4 separate regions of the Homo sapiens genome follow, and all the other regions are linked to region 3. Evidence: promoter capture Hi-C in human tissues and cell types (Jung and others, 2019). All regions are on one chromosome and are shown on one strand. Each heading gives the region's core, a stretch centred on a gene start or on the middle of the fragment in contact. The rest is flanking DNA. Distances are from core to core; before and after follow the strand shown. Region 1 overlaps GALNT18 (polypeptide N-acetylgalactosaminyltransferase 18). Region 2 has its middle 110 kb from the start of LINC02752. Region 3 holds the start of CSNK2A3 (casein kinase 2 alpha 3). Region 4 holds the start of LOC124902631 (a long non-coding RNA gene).

Evidence for each region. Contacts are between HindIII fragments. The study calls those that stand out against the background at their distance.
Region 1: a contact is called between a fragment that was not itself captured here and the fragment with the promoter of CSNK2A3 in region 3, in 2 of the 25 tissues and cell types used here (aorta and bladder).
Region 2: a contact is called between a fragment that was not itself captured here and the fragment with the promoter of CSNK2A3 in region 3, in 2 of the 25 tissues and cell types used here (IMR-90 fibroblasts and adrenal gland).
Region 4: a contact is called between a fragment that was not itself captured here and the fragment with the promoter of CSNK2A3 in region 3, in 2 of the 25 tissues and cell types used here (adrenal gland and aorta).

Annotation. Positions count from the first base shown.
Region 1 is chr11:11,463,160-11,468,156 of GRCh38, reverse strand. All of the region lies in intron 1 of GALNT18 (polypeptide N-acetylgalactosaminyltransferase 18), which reads left to right. Among named protein-coding and RNA genes, the nearest start is that of GALNT18-AS1, 100 kb to the left of the region's middle. The HindIII fragment of the contact is 4,472 bases long and covers 1,078-4,997 here.
Region 2 is chr11:11,226,749-11,231,202 of GRCh38, reverse strand. No RefSeq gene overlaps it. Among named protein-coding and RNA genes, the nearest start is that of LINC02752, 110 kb to the right of the region's middle. The HindIII fragment of the contact is 4,347 bases long and covers 1-3,505 here.
Region 3 is chr11:11,351,910-11,356,569 of GRCh38, reverse strand. It overlaps CSNK2A3 (casein kinase 2 alpha 3), which reads left to right and starts at 3,320. Exons shown (of 1, transcript NM_001256686.2): 1 at 3,320-4,628. The coding sequence starts at 3,451. The coding sequence ends at 4,626. The region is part of intron 6 of GALNT18 (polypeptide N-acetylgalactosaminyltransferase 18); the gene reads left to right. The HindIII fragment of the contact is 7,765 bases long and covers 2,000-4,660 here.
Region 4 is chr11:11,258,433-11,262,846 of GRCh38, reverse strand. It overlaps LOC124902631 (a long non-coding RNA gene), which reads left to right and starts at 1,217. Exons shown (of 2, transcript XR_007062594.1): 1 at 1,217-1,405. The HindIII fragment of the contact is 7,504 bases long and covers 1-4,414 here.

The DNA.
Region 1 (4,997 bases), core at 2,064-4,563, 110 kb before region 3:
AAGAAGGCATGGTATTTTACCAGCACAACATTTATGATATATAAAAGGATTACAGTATTTTTCTCAGAGGATAAGACAGGAAGGCTTGCTTTGTTATTTGAGATTTGAGATGTTTCTAGTTGACCTGAAGTTCTGCTGATTAGGGAGGGGCTAATTTCTTAAGACTTCTTAGTAATTATCCTGACCCAGACCTTCTTCCCTAGAATCTCTTAGGATGGAACATCTCGGGGTGATCTGTAGTCTTAACAAACTTACCAGGTGGATTCTTGTATACACACTGAAGTTTGGAAACCACTATCCTTAATCCAGTGGTTCTAAATCTTGGCTGCATATTGGAATCACCTGGAGAGTTGAGAAAACAATGAAAGGAAATACTACAAAAGAGATGCCCCAAACCCCACCTCCAGAGATTTTGACTCAACCAGGGTTGGGCCTGAGCATTCTTAATTTGATGTGATTATCTCATTCCCAGTTGACTTAATGTGTAGCCAGGGTTGAGAACTTGGGTTAAACTGTGTTCTCAGCCATGGTGCCTGTCTGTGCCCTGAATGTGCACAATGCATGAGCGTGTGGGCGTGTCTCCTGGGCTGATTCCAACCCTTGGGGACATTTATGGCTGGGACCTGGGCTTGCTCTGGCAAACAGAGTGGTTCCCTTTAAATGCCTGCATCTGGCCATCAGACTGGCATGGCGCCTGTGCTGTGTTCAGAGGATGTTGCTGGAAGCTGGGAGAAAAGCCTCTGCCATATCACCTCTCTCATCTGGCTCTGGGTAAGAAAGGGCTCTGTGAAGGGGCAGGGGTGGCAGCTGCAGCGGAACCAGTGGCACTGGGAAGATTTCTGGCCATGGAGCCATGGGTGACCTAGGTTGGGGCAGCAGCACCTGATGTAGTAGTTGCTATAGAGCTATGAGCCCTGATCCTCAGTGTGGCTTCTGCGTGTCAGTGTGGAGAGACAGCAGAACCCTCCTGCCTGCCGTGGGCACACATAGCATATGCAGCCGGTGGGCACACACGGTGATGTCTATCTTCTCCCCATTAAGGGCCTCCTGCCTCCCGGGCCCCAGGTTCGGAAGATGTTCTCCTCCGCACATACTGCCTGTGTGCAGAGATGAGCAGTTCATTTTCCATCTTTTATTAATCAAAGACACATGTAGCTGTTAATCAGGGCTTCTGACTCCCAGTAGGTAAGAAGATTTTCTACTCTGAGCCTTCTAGAAATTGCACATAAGCCAAGTAATGGGTCCTTTCATTGATCTGCGTGTGTCCTATTGCCAGGCCTTTTGGAAGCAGTTTGAAGAGCTCAGGAACACCCTGCCCAGGTCTCCCTTCTGTCTTGCTTCCCGCTCATTCCTGCCCCAACTTTACCTCTCTGTGTCATCTTTAGCAAGTCCTCCAACCTCTCTGATAGAAAAAATGCCTTGGCCTCATCGTTTCCCCTGAGAAAGGAGACAGATGAACTCATTAGCTTTCATGGTTCAAAGCACCTTCTTTGGCCACAGACCCTTTCTTTAAAGGGTTTCTTATGCAAAATCCTAATAGGTAAACAGACTGAATTAGAGCTATTCTGGCAAAGGAGGAAAGAGGGGTCTCAGACTCCCCTCACCCCTCTCTCAGGGTCCACTGTCCCCAAGGGGGCTCCACAGACTCTTTTGGAAACCTCAGTTGTAAATAAGTTATTTTCAATGGGGGATCATCCCTCCTTTCCTGGGTGTCCGTATCAAAATCTTGGGAAAGTCAAGTGGCACATGTACTTTGAAAAATCATATTTCAAAATGGCCATTGTTTCTATTTGTTTTCATTTGTGATACCTAATTTATTTTCAAATTTCAAGTAACATGAAAGGAGGGTAGGGATTTCAATATTCACGTAAAGGTGGCACTGGTTTATAAAGGTTGCAGTCCGTTGATCTACATCAGTGTTTTGCAAAATGCAGTCACAACCCACCCAGCAGGCCATGAAATCAATTTACTAGGTCATGAACAGCATTCCTTCTTAATAGAATATTACAGAATAAAACAGAATGTGTCAGAGTTAATCACACATGGTCATGCTAAAGATTGTTTTGTAACCTCGTTTCCCTTATATCTGTTTGCGTATAATGGGTGAAATGCAAAAAATACAGTTTTGTAGGTTATGATTGAGAAGAGCTGAGAAGCACTGGTCTGGATGGATGCCTCCTGTGGTTCCTTTGGGCCCTGACTTTGGCTCACATCCACATCTGGGAGACCTTCCTACCCCCTATGTTGAGCAGAGCACTGGTGAGCCATGCAGTGAGGCCAGGGAAGAAGGCAGAAGTACTCAGCAGTATGACAGTGCAAGCCCCTCCCCTAGAGATAGCTGAGTACCCTACATAAATATCGTGCAGTAATTCCACATCCTCCTGGGGCCTGGCAGAGGAGAAGAGGTTAATATGGAGCCAGCTGACCTTGCCCAGGTCCATGGTCCAGGAGCTAACCGTGGTATGTCTTATACAGGTGGGTGAAGCAAGTGTATGAAGTGGTCTGGGCACTCCATTTCTCTACCCCTGATCAGCCCCAGCAGCAGAGAAGCTTGTCACCTCCAGGCCTCTCTGGTTCCCGGAGGCCATTCTCAAGACCCTTCCTAAGCTGTGCTTCCTGACCTCATGGCCAGGTGGCTTTGGCTTCTGTGGCTACTGAGCTGCCATGGATACGGATCACGAGCCCCAGGATCAGAGGGCAGCGTGACACCGTCCGTGCAGCCTGGAGGAGCAGCACTCAAGCTTTGAGTAATCCTTGGTGTTTTCCTGCACAGTGACAGCTCCATAAGGTGGGAATCTCTGCTTCCTAGCCCTGGGCTACACAGTGTGATGGATGACCCTGCCCACCCAACTCCCCAGTCTCAGGGGAAATCAGTCTAAATACAGACCCTCCCACTGTGGCATTCAGCTCCCGGTGCCAATGTGGCCTCCTTGACATCCCTTCCTCCCCTGACCTCAGCAGGAATGGGGCTGAGGATCTGGGAACAGACCTTCCTCAGGCATCCCAAGGCACCTCGCCCAGGTTACCAGTGGGATCTGTATTCTCTCTGTCCTCGTAGAGAGGATAGAGAAGTTGCCTTATGTTCTAAGTTACTCTGTGTACTTGACTCTGGTGGGGAAGACAAGAAATAATAAGCAGCCACCCCAACAACTCCCCACTGCTCGTAATTCCATCCCCAGCTCCCAGCCCAGCACCTGACCAGTAACAATAATAGTAACAACAGCCGGTGTTTATGTTGCCCATAGAATGTGAAAGGCTCTGTTATTAACTTATTCAGTCCTCACAATAACCCCACAAGGAAGTAGGTAATATGATTATCCCCAATTTTCAACATTAGTAAATGGAGGCACAGAGAAGTTAAGTGACTTGCACAAGGTCACACAGCTAGTGAGTAGTGAAGCCAAGCTCCAAACTCAGGCAGTGTGACTCAGAGGGTTGGCACTTCCCCGCTAGGCTATGCTGCTCTCTGCACTGCTGTATCTTGATGCATATTAATCAAATAAATGAATTTCATTTTATTTACAATGCCAAATTCATGGACTTTAATTTTCACTTTTCTGTGGGTACTCAGAAAAAAGTAGGGCAAGCCAATGTGTCTTTCTCAGTGTGCCAGGGCCCACGAGGGAGCTTCTTTCTGAACCACCCACCAGGAGGAAATGGCATTAGATCTGGGCCCATGCCTCCTTCCTGAAGAGGAGATGTTCATGGGACCAAGACAGGCTGTGCATCAGGGTGCCATCTCTGGGTGCCCACCAACTTTGAGGCATGGTGTGGAGGAGGAACTTCAGGGCTGCAGGGCCTCTGAGCAGAGTCCTCCTTAGATCTGAGCCTAGGAGACCTCGAGTCTCCCGGGAAGGCTGGCTTGGCCTCTCAAGATCTTTCTGGGCATAGGCTTTTTTGTTCACTTTAAAAATCCATTTGTGGAGCAAAAACTCATGATTATGGAAGAAAGTTTAGACTTTGTGGAAAATCCTGGGACCCACTGAAGAAGCCTTGCCTGACCTTGTACAGGAGCTATCAGTATGGATGCTTTTCAAAGCCCATGGCTGACAGAGATAGATAAGCTTGGGACCCCATTCACTACATCTTGGACGTGCAGTTTCTTTGTCCAAAACCTTTGCTTATTTTGTCTGGCTGCAGGCCGGGACTGCCTCCTTCCTCTGCTTCAGGTGCTCACAGAGCAAGACTGGGTTGGTAAATTAAGAATTTGCCAGATGGAAAGGACTAATTTTTCCCCCTTTCAAAATCATGAGCATGACGGTTTTTGCACACATTCCGCCGGACACATACTGCATTCATAATACAGAGCGTCGAGACAGCATAAAGGTTTCACATCTTTCATGTGATAAATATTTTTACCGTCATGCTCAAGAAATGGATTTTGTTTGAAAATGGCCTATTTCCTTTGATGGCTTCTTTGACGTGGATTCAAAGCCTTTCCCTATCCTGCCAGGGCCTGGGGTTGGGAGGGCCTGTTTGTTCAGTTTTTTCGAAGGACAAATCCACTTCTCCCTGATGAAATACAGCTGTGACTGCTGGGGGTGAGAGATTTACGACTTAGGACAGTAATGAAAAGACGTCCAGTGAGCCGACAGCTGCTGGGAGTGATGGCACGCTCAGCCCTGGGGCCACAACAGCTAGGGCTCCCAGGGGACGTGTAAGCAGACCTCAACCTCGCTGGGGCCCTGGCTCGTATTTATCCTTCTGCACTGTACACTACATTTAAAGAATCAGATGTGGGCTAGTTAACTGAATAATATTTCTTCTCACAAGTTTGTTTTTGTAAGTGTTCTTTTCTCATCTTTGAAATGACACATTTTTAATGCTCTTGCTATAAGCAGTGAGCAACCACTTGGGACTAGAAGAATCTGTTTTCAGGATGAGCTTTTGTAGGCTGCTGCGGGCTTCTGGAACTCTCTCTCTCTCTCTCTGTGTGTGTGTGTGTGTCTGTCTGTCTGTCTGAGTGTGTATGTCCATGTGTGAGGATACAGCCAGTG
Region 2 (4,454 bases), core at 83-2,582, 120 kb after region 3:
ACCTCAGTCAACGAACTGGATTTATTACCATTTCCTTGTTCACTTATTTGATAAATAAAGAATGCCTGAATGAATAAAGGGATGAGTGATATGTGAGCTAGTACTTGCTGTCTTCCCCAGCCCTGTCATGAAGGATGGGGGTTCACAGGGACACATTGGTGATTAGAAGACACAAATAAGGTACCAACCACAGTGACCACAGAGATGTCACTCAGTGCCAGAAATGGCCACTCGGGAAGGGACTTTCATAGATGGGTTATACCCCAACCAAGTTCTCAAGAAGTGTCTTTCATGGGTGGGTTGTACCCCAGCCAGGTTCTCAGCCATCTGAGTTTAGCAAGTGAAATTTTGCAGTGCACCCCAAAGTCATTTTTCAGCAGCAAACTCACATAACCAGGTTCAAAAGTCACATTGTAAAGTGGGAATGCCAGCCTAATGATTGGTAAAGGTGACTGCAGTGCTCTGTCTCTTGTCCAGGCATTTCAGTTGAGATTTTTTCAGTTGCCAGAGACAGGAATTCTAATTCAAAAATGACTTAAGTGCAAAAGGAATTTATCAGCTTTCAAAACTGAAAGTTCCAGGGAATAAATCTAGTTTCAGGTACAGCTGGATTCAGGCATCAAATGGTATCATCAGGACTCAATTTCTTCCTTCTCTGGGTTCTACCTTGTTGATTTAGGCTCCACATGGTGGATAGATGGCTTCCTGCCTCCAGGATCCCATCTTCCCAGCTTCAAGTCTAGCTGGCAGGAGTGGAAGAGTCTCCTCTGGAAGCCTCAGCATGCATCTCATGGCATCTCCTTGGCCCTAATGAGGTCACATAGCCAACTCTGAGCCAAGCCTTGCGACCAGCAGAGGAGTGTTACATTCTGATTGCCTGAGGCCTAGATCACATGCTCCACCCCTAAGCCAAGAGTTGGTGCCTCCCAAGCACAAGGGCTGAGTGTAGGGGAAAGAGGGAAGTTGGATATGGGCACCACAATGCAGGGGTGGATGCTGGGCAGCAAACCCAACCAATGCCCACTGTACCAGGACACCTTATTATAGTCCTGAGGAGGCCAAAACATTCTTCTGAGGCTTGCTTGGTATGTCAGAATAAGGCAAGAGGGCTATTAAGAAGTGAGATTATTTTTACCAAGATCTAGAAATTGTCCTCACGCCAAAGCAGAACACCCATCTCTCAGGCAGAGCTGGGAACAGGCTAACAACCCTCCTCTCTGAAGCCCAGTTTCTCCCTAGGCCCCATCCCTTCTGCAGGCAGACTGTGCCTTGATTCAGATGGGTTGACATCACCAATCCTACCTCAAGGCTGTAGGTGAGTCATTGTGCCCAGCTGTGCCCACCCTGCATAGGTTTTCTTCACTCTGACTCATTTACATTGATTCATAAATAAAATGCATTCCCATGGTTCCTTCTACTTGTTCTAATGCTGTCCTGCACAACCCAGTTCAGCAGCCTAATGAGATGGAGCAGGGCAGAGACTTCTCTGCATATCTTATAGATGGTGTGATGAAAGGAAAGAGAGGACAAATGATACGCCCAGGTTCACACAACAGGATAAAGGCTACTCCACCCCCTGCTGATGACCCCCTGGCTCAGCACTTACTACAGCAATGAAGTTACCTACTGAGGTTTGTCAGTGACAGTCCAATCTCTTCAGCGTATCACTGAGATGTACCAAGAGACTGACCCTTAGAATGGAGGTGAAAATACTTTTTTCTTAGCCACTCCCGGGCAATTTCCTCCCACTTTCTCCCATTCTTGGCCCCTGAGCCACTCACAGAGGCACTGCCCTTGTCATTCTTAGGCTGGAGGGATAATTCCTCTTGGCTGTGGGGTGGAACCCTGCACAGCAATCTGTCCCTGAGGACTGACATAGCTCCCATCTAGATGCAGTCAGTGCTCAGATAAGACAAGATGGATGGCAAACAACGTTTGGACCAACAGGTGCCATTTGTTAACATGCTCTAGATCAATGGCTTCAAAAATTAAAACATTCTGTATCTGTCAGATGTCTCCACCAGACCCTCTGGCAGGGCAGAGGTACCAGCTGCAGATTGGTGTGAGGTTGGGGGCCATAGAAGGGAGGGGAGATTTCAGTTGGTGGTAGGGAGGATATGGCATTTCCTACCAGAGCAAAAAGCAAGCTCCCTCCCACTGCAGAGGTTCCCCAAATAAGTCAGAGGATGGGGGAGAGGCAAGTCCAGATGCTAACATTTCATAGCAAAAGGATGGAGGGACACATTCCCTGAGTTTCCTAAAACATCAAGCATTGTCTTGGGCATGGCATATACCTGAAACATGGAGGCCTCCTCCCTTGCCTGGAGAAAATGAGCCCACAATGGTGAACGCCTGTCTCCTGTTTTCTACTGTCATTCGGATTCATGAGTGTAACACATGCTGTGGAGCCTCCATCCCATATCCAGCCCACCTGAGTTTACCTGCAGCTATGAGGACATCTCAGCTCTCACCCCCGTGCATGTCCCTCCTCTCTGCCTGGCTGGCATCCTGCCTGAGAGCCTGCTCTCAGTGGCCAGTCACCACCGTGACATGCGGGGGAGTTAATGCCCGGGGTGGGTATGGCAGGGAGTGAATAAGTGCCCCAGGCTCCCTGCCCCTCCAGTGGCTCGATTTTGAGGCAAGGGCCACATGGTTTTCAGAAAGCTTCCAGGGATCAACCCCAGTTGCCCATGACTGTAACTCATTCATCAGAGCATTCACTTTATTGTTTTTTCGTCTTCTATGTCTAACCTTGCCTACTTCATCATTGTGCTTCCGGGGATCACCTCCCAAATAAACAACCGTGTCCTTGTTTCCCAAGAATGCTCCTCTCTGTGTTGACTCTGTGCAGCCCTTTCTTAACCCGAGCCTCCTATAGGATCATAGTGCTATGTGAGTGGAGGGTACAGAAAGGGGCACTGGCTCCACCCTGACTTTTCTACAAATCCCAGAGCATTGCACCTCTCACCCTACCCCCACCACCTTTGCCCTGGGCTCACCAGTCAGCTCTTGATCTTCCAGGATTGGTCCAGCCCAAGGGTCTGTATCGACACAAGCCACGTGGTACAGTAGAAAGAACATGGAGGAGGGTGCTTGGCTTCCAGCTCTTTGATGACCTATGCAGCTGTGGGGAAGACATATGACCTCTCTGAACCTCAGAATTGGGAAATCTCTAAAATTAAGAAAGTACCAAACCTCTCTCACGGGGTTGTGGCTATGATCAAACAGGGAAATATATGTGAAGCTCTATGTAAACTCTAACTTTTTCCACAGCTGATATTCAGCAAGTACCTACCAGAACAGCTCTATCTGTGGTTTATGGCTGTTGCTTGTTCTGACTGGCCAGAGCCTGTGCTGTCCCTGTTATTAAATATGTCAAATATCACTTCTGAATAGCATCACTATTACCTGTACATCTTGTATCCCTTGCTTGGAGGCAGCCGGCCAACCTCTCTGAATAGTAGAATCACAGCTCATCTATAAGGAGAGTCCTAGGGAGGGCCATATTGCTGTGCCAAGGAAGAATGTCCTAGTACAAGACATGGAGGCATCCTCCAGATAGATCGATCCCATTTCAAATGGGCAAACACAGAGCATCTTGTGCAAATATGCCACAAGACTTGCTTCAAGGCCCAGCCCGTTGCTAAGGAGTCCAGTGTTTCACCCAGCTTAATTAAGCATGTTTAAAGGGATACATGCTCTCCCCCATCCATCCACAAAAAGGCCCTTGGCAGAACTCGAGTAATTAATCAGAGGGCTGTGCGAGTGGATGCTCTCTCGCTTGTGAAGAAAAGCTGACCTGGGCTTAGATCTAAGGGATTTGAGCTCTGAATAATCTTGGAAGATTGGGGAAGGCAACCTGGGGACAGGCCAGCAGGCACTCAGGGTTGCGCATGGGAGAGAGATACTCACACTCTGCAATGTGGCATAATACAATGAGGTAGGGAGATGAGAAAAGGTCTTCATTAGAATCTGTTTGCATATTCATTGTCAACTGTGACTAGCTTAAACTAAACTCACCCATCACAGAAATCCATAGTGACTGTCAGACAATGATAAGCCTTCTTATTTCTCAATTTTGCTTTAAAGTAGACATGACTGAAAATATGCACTGTGTGATGCTCATAATCAGAGATAGACTGCAATTAAAACTAACCAATGATTAAACTTCACCCTCACCCCAACTGTTCACTCAATAACTGTGTTAATCATCATCCTTCCTGCCAGTCATTGCAACTGTGGCTTTTAAGGTTGGCACATGGGGCGCTGCATTGGCCTGTTCATAGGAGGATAAGGGGATGTTGGGAGTATTTGATTTCTGTGCTATCATGGGATCAAAAGGCAAGCTTTGACTTAGCAGTGGCTTGGTGTGCAAGAGAGGAAGCTAGGACAAAGAGTGCTGGTCCACAAGAAGAAATTAGGAGGAGACAGAATTAAGACACTGAGCACTTCCT
Region 3 (4,660 bases), core at 2,071-4,570:
ACTTTGATTATAGACTGGGGATTTGATAATAGTCATGTATCAATGTTTAATTTCCTGAATTTTGGAAAAAAGCAAAAACAAAAGCCAAAGAAACCTGGAAGCTCACAATGTATGTTAAAGCTCCCCAGAGTCATTTTCTGTCTCCCTTTTGTTTCCATTTTTGTTCTTTGTTCTTCTTTAGCTGAGTCTGCATGCTGGTCGGTATCAGACCCTGGAAGGTAGCTTCTTGGCCACCATTACATTGTTATTCTAGTTTTCCTGGAAGAGACCACCAAGCAAGGCCAGAATCATTTCCTCAGAAGAACTGCCACAAACTGAGCAAGGGTTCCTTCTCCTCCTCCTCTGACACTGCTGTGGTTTTCCTTGGACAAGATCCGATATTCATAAATCTGAAGTTGCAGAAGGAGGGGTCAGGGGCATCTCCAAATACAAATGTTCTTGGCTTTGTAAAGCAATGCAAAGGGCAGGGTACCTGTGAGCACATTTTTTTCTAGTGCTGTAGGTGCTGGTATCCAGAAATTACCCTTACACACAAGTTTTTCTATAAAGTTTGGTATCCAGAAATTACCCCTGCACACAAGTTTTTCTATAAAACAAAGCCTACCTGTATACAAAGTCAGTCCTGAAAATAAAGAGTTAACCCCTGGTGTAAATGGCCCAGGAACACCATTCACTCCTTTAGGTCTTGCCTCTCTCTCTTTCTGTCTGTCTAGTTTGGGAAAGTTCAAGAGACAGGGCTCTGGTCTCTGGAGCACTGAATGGTGGGGTGCTCTGTTTTATTCCTCAGGCCTGCTTCAAATGCTGCACATCAGGAGGTGAGGGTCTTGATGACTTGCTTAATTTTCACCACACTAGGATTGTAGTAATATAGAGAAATCATGGACTAGGGGAGGGAAAAGATTAGTAAGACCATGATTTTAAGACAGATACTTATTTGGGATTTCAGTGTTTCTAAAATCAGGTTGGACCTTATACATTTGGCATATATAAATAAATAATAAATATGTAAATAAATTTTAATTTACTGTCCAAACTAGAAGCTTTTGCGAGTGAAAGGGGGTGCTACTAATAACAGTGGAACACTAGGTATAAACCAGAATAGTCCCCAGCAAACCAGAACATATGGTCATTCTACTGAGAATTTTTTGTGCATGTTTAATCACCTCCTTAAATGCCCCATCTCCAATATAGTCACATGGGGAGTTACAGCCTCAGCATATGAATTTGAGGAAGGGGGAGACAATTCAGTCCATAGGGAGTGCTGTAACAGAAAAAACACAGTGTAAGTATCAGAAAGTCAGGGATTTTTTATATTTTGTTCTGTGGTAAGATTCCCATCTCCTACAACAAAGACTGGCACATAGTAAGTGCTCAGTAAATAATTGCTGAACTGCATTAAAGCAGAGGAGGGACATGCTCTGATGTATAATTTTAAAAAGTGGATTGGAGGGCAATACGGATTGAAGGGCAACACGACAACGCAGAAAGACCAGGGAAGAGGCTCTGGATGGAGATGCCCACACAAAAATAATAGGGACTTGGACCAGGATGTTGGCTGTGCAGATGGAGAGAAGTGATTAAATTCAAGCTATATTTAGGAGGTAGAACTGTCTGCTTTTGCCGATGTATTGGATGTGGAGAGGGAGGAAGAAGACATTGCTACAGATGAATTACAGGTTACAGGCTTCGGCTATTAGATGGATGAGGGGCAGACTAAGGGACAGATGGGGAGGCAGGGAAGAAAATCGGGAACTTCGTTTTGGACATGGTAAGGTTGAGATGCCTGAGACACATGAGAGTGAAGGTGAGACGTAGGCACTTGGGTATATAAATCTTGAGCTCAGAGGAATGTAGTGTGTTTTCCCCTGTCCCGAAAAGCTGTGGTATAGCAATAGTGAATCTTATCATCAGTGGAATATTATAGTGATAATAATTATAGCTGATACTTAGGGGCCTCTAAACTTCTTCCAGGTGATGAAATAAACTGTCTCTGTGTATTACTTCATTTAATTCTCACAGCAACTATCTTTGGAATTTATCACTTTTATCTCCATTTCATAGACAAGGAAACTGAGTGTTGGAAGGTGAAGTGAATTGCCTAAAGTCACCAGTTCAGCAAATGGGAAATGTAGGACTTGACACCAAGACTGTTTGGCCCCAGAGGCTATGCTCTGAACCATAATGACTTCCTGTCTTCCAAAAGGCAGGCTCTTGGATCCATATCTTACTGTGCTTCTAAATTATCCTGTGACCCTGAACCTTAGTTTGCTCACCTGGGAAATGAAGGGAGGTCCTGGTTAGGTTCCCTTCAGTTCTACTCTATTGCAGTATGCTGATCTCTTTTGTAAATCTGTATTAAATGAGAGTTTGCTATCGGTGACTTTCAGAGATGACACCAGTGATGATGCCCATGCTGACGATTCATTCTGATGTCTATGAAAAGAGCAAATCCTTTAAGAGAAGATGTAGCATACCAGTGTTTATAATCTGAGTTTCATTTGATTAAGAGGGGAAGCTCTTTAGAACAAATATCATTTCTGAGCGAGAGAATGTTCAGCATCTCAGCCTCATTTGTATCATTTGATAAAAGGGCCCCACTGAGCCAAGTGTGAGGATGATGCTTGAGCCAGACACATAGACACCAGACATTCCTCTGATGTCTGCTCCCCAGGCTTGGCCACATTGCCTCCCACCAACCCCATCTCAATGACACATCCATTACCTGCCATCAGTTGGCTCTATGGTGCTGGGAATGACAGAGTGTATCTACCCTGGATTTCAGAAAGAACCCTCCTGGCTTATCATGGCAACACCCTTTGGACACTCGTTTAAAGAGTCCTTCTTTGGGCCAGTGTTATCCTTTTGGGGGCATCTGGTATGGACGGCCAATTTGAATCTGACTGGGACATGCTAATGAGCCATTCATATGTGTGGGATTTGTTTCTGATTCGATTAAGCTTCAGAGAGAGGAAAGAAACAGCCACTGATTAGAGACATAAAAAAAGAAATACTTTAAGTGAGTAAGTGGTTCATCTTCATATAGGAAAGTATAAATTAAACATGGTCCAGGAGATGTGCTTTGAATAGCAGCTGGATAGCACAAGCATGTCCACAAGGAGACGGTGCCTCACAGCAATTGAAAGGGACTTAACCCCCAAAAAGGGCTCTGAATATGCTGAGTAAATAGATGAGCCCAGTTAGCTGATAAAAATGACTCTCAGATTAGAGATGGGAAGGTTTTTATTTGGATTTTAGAAAATTGCTCCCCACTCCATCGCCGCCATATTGTCTGTGTGAGCAGAAGGGAGAGCGGCCACAGCCGCTGCCGCTTCCACCACAGTGTGAAGAAAACAGGTCTGAAACAAGGTCTTACCCCCAAGCTGCTTCTGAACACAGTGACTGCCAGATCTCCAAACATCAAGTCCAGCTTTGTCCGCCAACCTGTCTGACATGTCGGGACCCGTGCCAAGCAGGGCCAGAGTTTACACAGATGTTAATACACACAGACCTCGAGAATACTGGGATTACGAGTCACATGTGGTGGAATGGGGAAATCAAGATGACTACCAGCTGGTTCGAAAATTAGGCCGAGGTAAATACAGTGAAGTATTTGAAGCCATCAACATCACAAATAATGAAAAAGTTGTTGTTAAAATTCTCAAGCCAGTAAAAAAGAAGAAAATTAAGCGTGAAATAAAGATTTTGGAGAATTTGAGAGGAGGTCCCAACATCATCACACTGGCAGACATTGTAAAAGACCCTGTGTCACGAACCCCCGCCTTGGTTTTTGAACACGTAAACAACACAGACTTCAAGCAATTGTACCAGACGTTAACAGACTATGATATTCGATTTTACATGTATGAGATTCTGAAGGCCCTGGATTATTGTCACAGCATGGGAATTATGCACAGAGATGTCAAGCCCCATAATGTCATGATTGATCATGAGCACAGAAAGCTACGACTAATAGACTGGGGTTTGGCTGAGTTTTATCATCCTGGCCAAGAATATAATGTCCGAGTTGCTTCCCGATACTTCAAAGGTCCTGAGCTACTTGTAGACTATCAGATGTACGATTATAGTTTGGATATGTGGAGATTGGGTTGTATGCTGGCAAGTATGATCTTTCGGAAGGAGCCATTTTTCCATGGACGTGACAATTATGATCAGTTGGTGAGGATAGCCAAGTTTCTGGGGACAGAAGATTTATATGGCTATATTGACAAATACAACATTGAATTAGATCCACGTTTCAATGATATCTTGGGCAGACACTCTCGAAAGCGATGGGAACGCTTTGTCCACAGTGAAAATCAGCACCTTGTCAGCCCTGAGGCCTTGGATTTCCTGGACAAACTGCTGCGATATGACCACCAGTCACGGCTTACTGCAAGAGAGGCCATGGAGCACCCCTATTTCTACACTGTTGTGAAGGACCAGGCTCGAATGGGTTCATCTAGCATGCCAGGGGGCAGTACGCCCGTCAGCAGCGCCAATGTGATGTCAGGGATTTCTTCAGTGCCAACTCCTTCACCCCTTGGACCTCTGGCAGGCTCACCAGTGATTGCTGCTGCCAACCCCCTTGGGATGCCTGTTCCAGCTGCCACTGGCGCTCAGCAGTAACGGCCCTATCTGTCTCCTGATGCCTGAGCAGAGG
Region 4 (4,414 bases), core at 45-2,544, 92 kb after region 3:
AGTGAAAGTGAAATAATTCAAATTTGTATCTAGGTCTTCAGACTCGAGGACCAGTGTTGTTTTTCATATAGAATATAGGTATGTTCTGTGTGTGTGTGAGTGCGTGTATGTGTGTGAGTGAGTGAGTGACAGAGAGAGAGAGAGAGAAATCTGGGCTGGGATAGTCCAAGAATGCCACAGAGAAGGGGTGGTCATTATAACCTGGGCTTTTATGGGTGAATAGGAGTTTTCTGAACTGAAAAGGATAAGAGAATGACATGTCAGTTAGAAAGACGACTTAGGTCTGACTTAAAGTAATAGTAAAGGAAGGTGAGGAGATAAATTATCAAGCATGGTGAATGACTGGCTATGATGAGTGAGAGACAGAAAGGCATATACTTAGAACATGGTCACTTCCCTTCACCTGGTATCTCTTGGCAGTGAGGGGATCTGTCTCACATCTGCCCCCGATCTTCCCTCAGCTCTCTCCAGGATGCTGCCTCATCCACCAGCTGAGGCTAGAATAGGCCAGCTGCCTCACTTTAATTCTCCATGCCTCCACCACACAAGGCTGTCAGGTAGACCAGACCTCCCTGACATGTTAGTGGTAGCAAAGGCAAATCACAGATGTGGGAGCAGGCCAGGTTTTCCATTCATGCTTGCTTTATAAAGCTTCCTCGTAGTTCAAGGGGAAATATACAAATATGAAGGTTAATCCTTCACAGGGTGTCCACCCCCTCATGGACAAAGCTCAGCTCAGAGCCTGAGTCTCTGGTCCTCGGACCTGCCCTCTGGGAGAGTGTCCCCTTCTGCAATCTGTATGAAGACACACGGTGTGGCTCTCCTTCCCACCGACATGTCTAGAATTTAAAAGATCACCTCCTACACACCCCAGTTACCAATGCAGCCTCCTCCCGTCTCCCCTGACTGGTCCTAATCCCCTCCACTCCAGGGTTTCTCAACATGTGATCCACCCCTACCTGCATCTGCAGCTGGGGTCACTGGTGTTTGTAAGATGCAAATTTGGGAGCCCCTGCTGCAGATCTACCCAATCAGGATCACCCAGCTAACGCTTTCTAGTCCCTTGGGATTCAGCTTAAAATACCTCCTCTGAAAGTGTCCCTGAGCCTCCAGGGTGAGACTGGGGCCCCCTCCGTGCCCTTCTGTAATTGGTTATCTGCCCTGCCGGACTGAGCTCTGTGACAGCAGTGATTTTGCTTCCTTCCTGTGTTCTAGCACCCACTCCAGCACCTAGAGGAGAGCAGGTAAACCAAAGGAAGGGAGGAAGGGAGGAAGGGAATGGCATGACCATGCTTGGCTGCCTTCCTCCCAGCGCGTGAGGATTTGGACCAATTCTTCTTACCCTAAACTCAGCCTCTGAGTTTCAGAGTAACCCTGACTTGCAGAGTTCCAGACATGGAACCAGGTAAGTATAGGGAGGATCATCCACTGCAGTTCCTGATTAACAATGCATCTCTACTGGGGCCACAGCCTTGCTAGACCTGGGCCTGGAATCCCTGTTGGCCTTGCCAGGCCCCTTCCCCTTGGGACTGAACACTTGGTCTGGCTGCAGAATAATCCTTCCCTGGGACTCTGCTCCCACATCGACCCATCCTTAAAATCTTGGGACTCCCACCCCTCTGTAAATAAAAGAAGATCAATATCAGCTTTGCCCTGAGTGAGAGTGTGTGTGTGCGTGCGTGTGTGTGTGTGTCTGTGTGGAGGGCAGGCATGAAGCATGTGAGTGCAGGGTGGTATGCTGGCTTGTGCACATGTGCATATGTGCATAAGGGTGCTGTTGTTATCCCTACGGGTATTTCAGAATGTGCTGTGGAATGAGTGTTTCTGTCTGTGATACATGTATATACAGCCAGGGGTTTTTATGTGTGTATGCACAAGGTAGTTTTTCTGACATTGGTATGATTGAGCTTGTTTTTATTTCCTTTATGTTTATTTTATCTGCATTCAACTGTTCTTTGCAGAGGCTCCACAGATCTCTTGAAACCATTTATTTACCTATACTGTCCTTCCTGCTAGGCAATGAGAGCCCTGAAGGCAGAGACATTACGTGATTTGTCTTTGTATCCGCAGCTTCTAGCACAGTGCCTGACATGCCTGCATGTGTTCATTCTTTCATTCCTTCATTCAACATATATGCATCCATCTTCTAACTGTGTGCTGTATGTTGGGGACACAACCATGCATGAAGAGAGACACAGTCACTGCCCTCATGGAGCTTAGAGTCTAGTGGAAAAGACAAATACTAATCAAATAATTAAATAATGTAAAAGTGCAACTGTACAAAGTACTAAGAAAGGGACATACGGAGGCCAAGATGGGTGGATCACCTGAGGTCAGGAGTTCGAGACCAGCCTGGCCACATGGTGAAACCCTGCCTCGACTAAAAATGCAAAAATTAGCTGGGCATGGTGGTATGTGCCTGTAATCTCAGCTACTCAGGAGGCTGAGGTGGGAGAATTGCTTGAACCCGGGAGGCGGAGGCTGCAGTGACCTGAGATTGCACCACTGCACTCCAGCCTTGGTGACAGAGCAAGACCCCATCACAAAAAAAGGGGGGGACACACAGAATCCTGACAGAGTATAAAAGGCAGATTAAACTAGTCAGGGAAGTGAGAGGTGGATTCCGAGGAAATGACACTTAAGCTGACGTGCACATGAGAAGGCACGACTGGAGGATAGAGGCATGTCCTTCCATTCTGCATAAATAGTCCATGGAGTGGCAGTGAGAGGACCTGTAGGAAAGCTCATTGTGGGGAGCCAGAGGAGTGAAGGGGCACTATGGGAAAGATGGGGGTGGAAGGTGGCTGGTACTGTCCCATGCAGGGCCTCTATATGCTTTGTTAAATATAGAGTCCTTCTCTTCCGAGTGAGGGAAGCCACTGAAAAGTTGTAAGCAGGCAGATGACAGGATCAGTTGTATTTGATGGCTAAATAGATTTGATAGGATGAAGGCAAACCCAATCCATGGGTAGACCAGATAGCAGGTAGGAATGATGGTAGCTTGGACTAGGCTCATGGCAGTGAAGATGGAGAGAAGAATAAATTTCAGAGGCATTTAGGAGGTAGAGTAGATAGATCATAGCAGGAGCTTGAATATGGAACCTGAGCAAGACAGAAGAGTAGAGGACAGAAAGAGGCACATTCACTGGTCTAGAGAACACTTCAAGAGAACCAGTTTGGAAGGCAAGAGGCTGAACTCATTGTCTTAAACCTATTGAGTTTGGGAGCGCTTTGAGATGTCCAGATGAAATGTCAGAAGAATCTGACAGTAGGATATGTGGGTCTGGAGTGTGCACAAGGCAGGCGATTAATAATCGTGTCCTAAATTGATGTTCCCAGCTTCTTGCTCCCTTGCACCATTTCTTTTCATCAAGAGAGAATGATGGTTCTTAGAAAATTTAGAAATAGACATGACTCACCTTGGATAGAGGCTTCGGAAATGAGAAGGCTCTATAAACCCAAGTCATTACAAACTACCAGGTGTACAGAGTTTTACAGCTCACAAGGGGCTCTAACTCATTTGAGCTTCACAATAACCTGGGATTATTACATCCATTTGAGGTTACATGGCTTGTCCTGAAAAATCATGTATTGGCTCAAGTGTAAACTACTTTCTTATTATCATCTGCTTCTGGAAGAATTGGGACTGCAAAAAGCCTCCCTTACGAGACACGTCAATTCAATCCACTTTACATATATCCTTAAGCACAAATTGAAAAGGCAAGGAAGGGGCTTTGGAGGCACATAAGACAGTCCCTGCCCTTAAGGAGATCAGTCTATGGGACAAGAGTCTTCACTGATTATAATATAAGAAACAATGTGGTGAATGCTATATGAACCCCTTTTAAGTCATGTTTTCCTGATTATGAAAATAGTAAATGTCTAGTGCAGACAAATGCATACTTAAGCAGGTTTTAGGTGGAGTTTCTGTAATTTGCAATCAAAAGAACCTTTGCCAGCTGCAGTGGCTCACACCTGTAATCCCAGCACTTTGGGAGGCTGAGGCAGGCGGATCACCTGAGGTCAGGAGTTCAAGACCACCCTGCCCAACATGGCAAAACCCCGTCTCTACTAAAAATGCAAAAATTAGTCGGGCATGGTGGCACATGCCTATAGTCCCAGCTACTCTGGAGGCTGAAGCAGGAGAATTGCTTGAACCCGGGAGGCAGATGTTGTAGTGTGCCAAGATAGTGCGACTGCCTGGGTGACAGAGTGAGACTCCTTCTAGAAAAAAAAAAAAAAAAAAAAAGAAAAAAAAAAACAAAACACTGACTGATGAAGTTATTTTGAGAATTGAATCAATTAAATTCTATGAAGTGCTTAACACAGTACTGTACCTGAAATAGAGTAAGTATTTGATTAATGTATTAATGTTAGCAGCTCATATTCTTATTCAATTTATTAGAACAGTGGG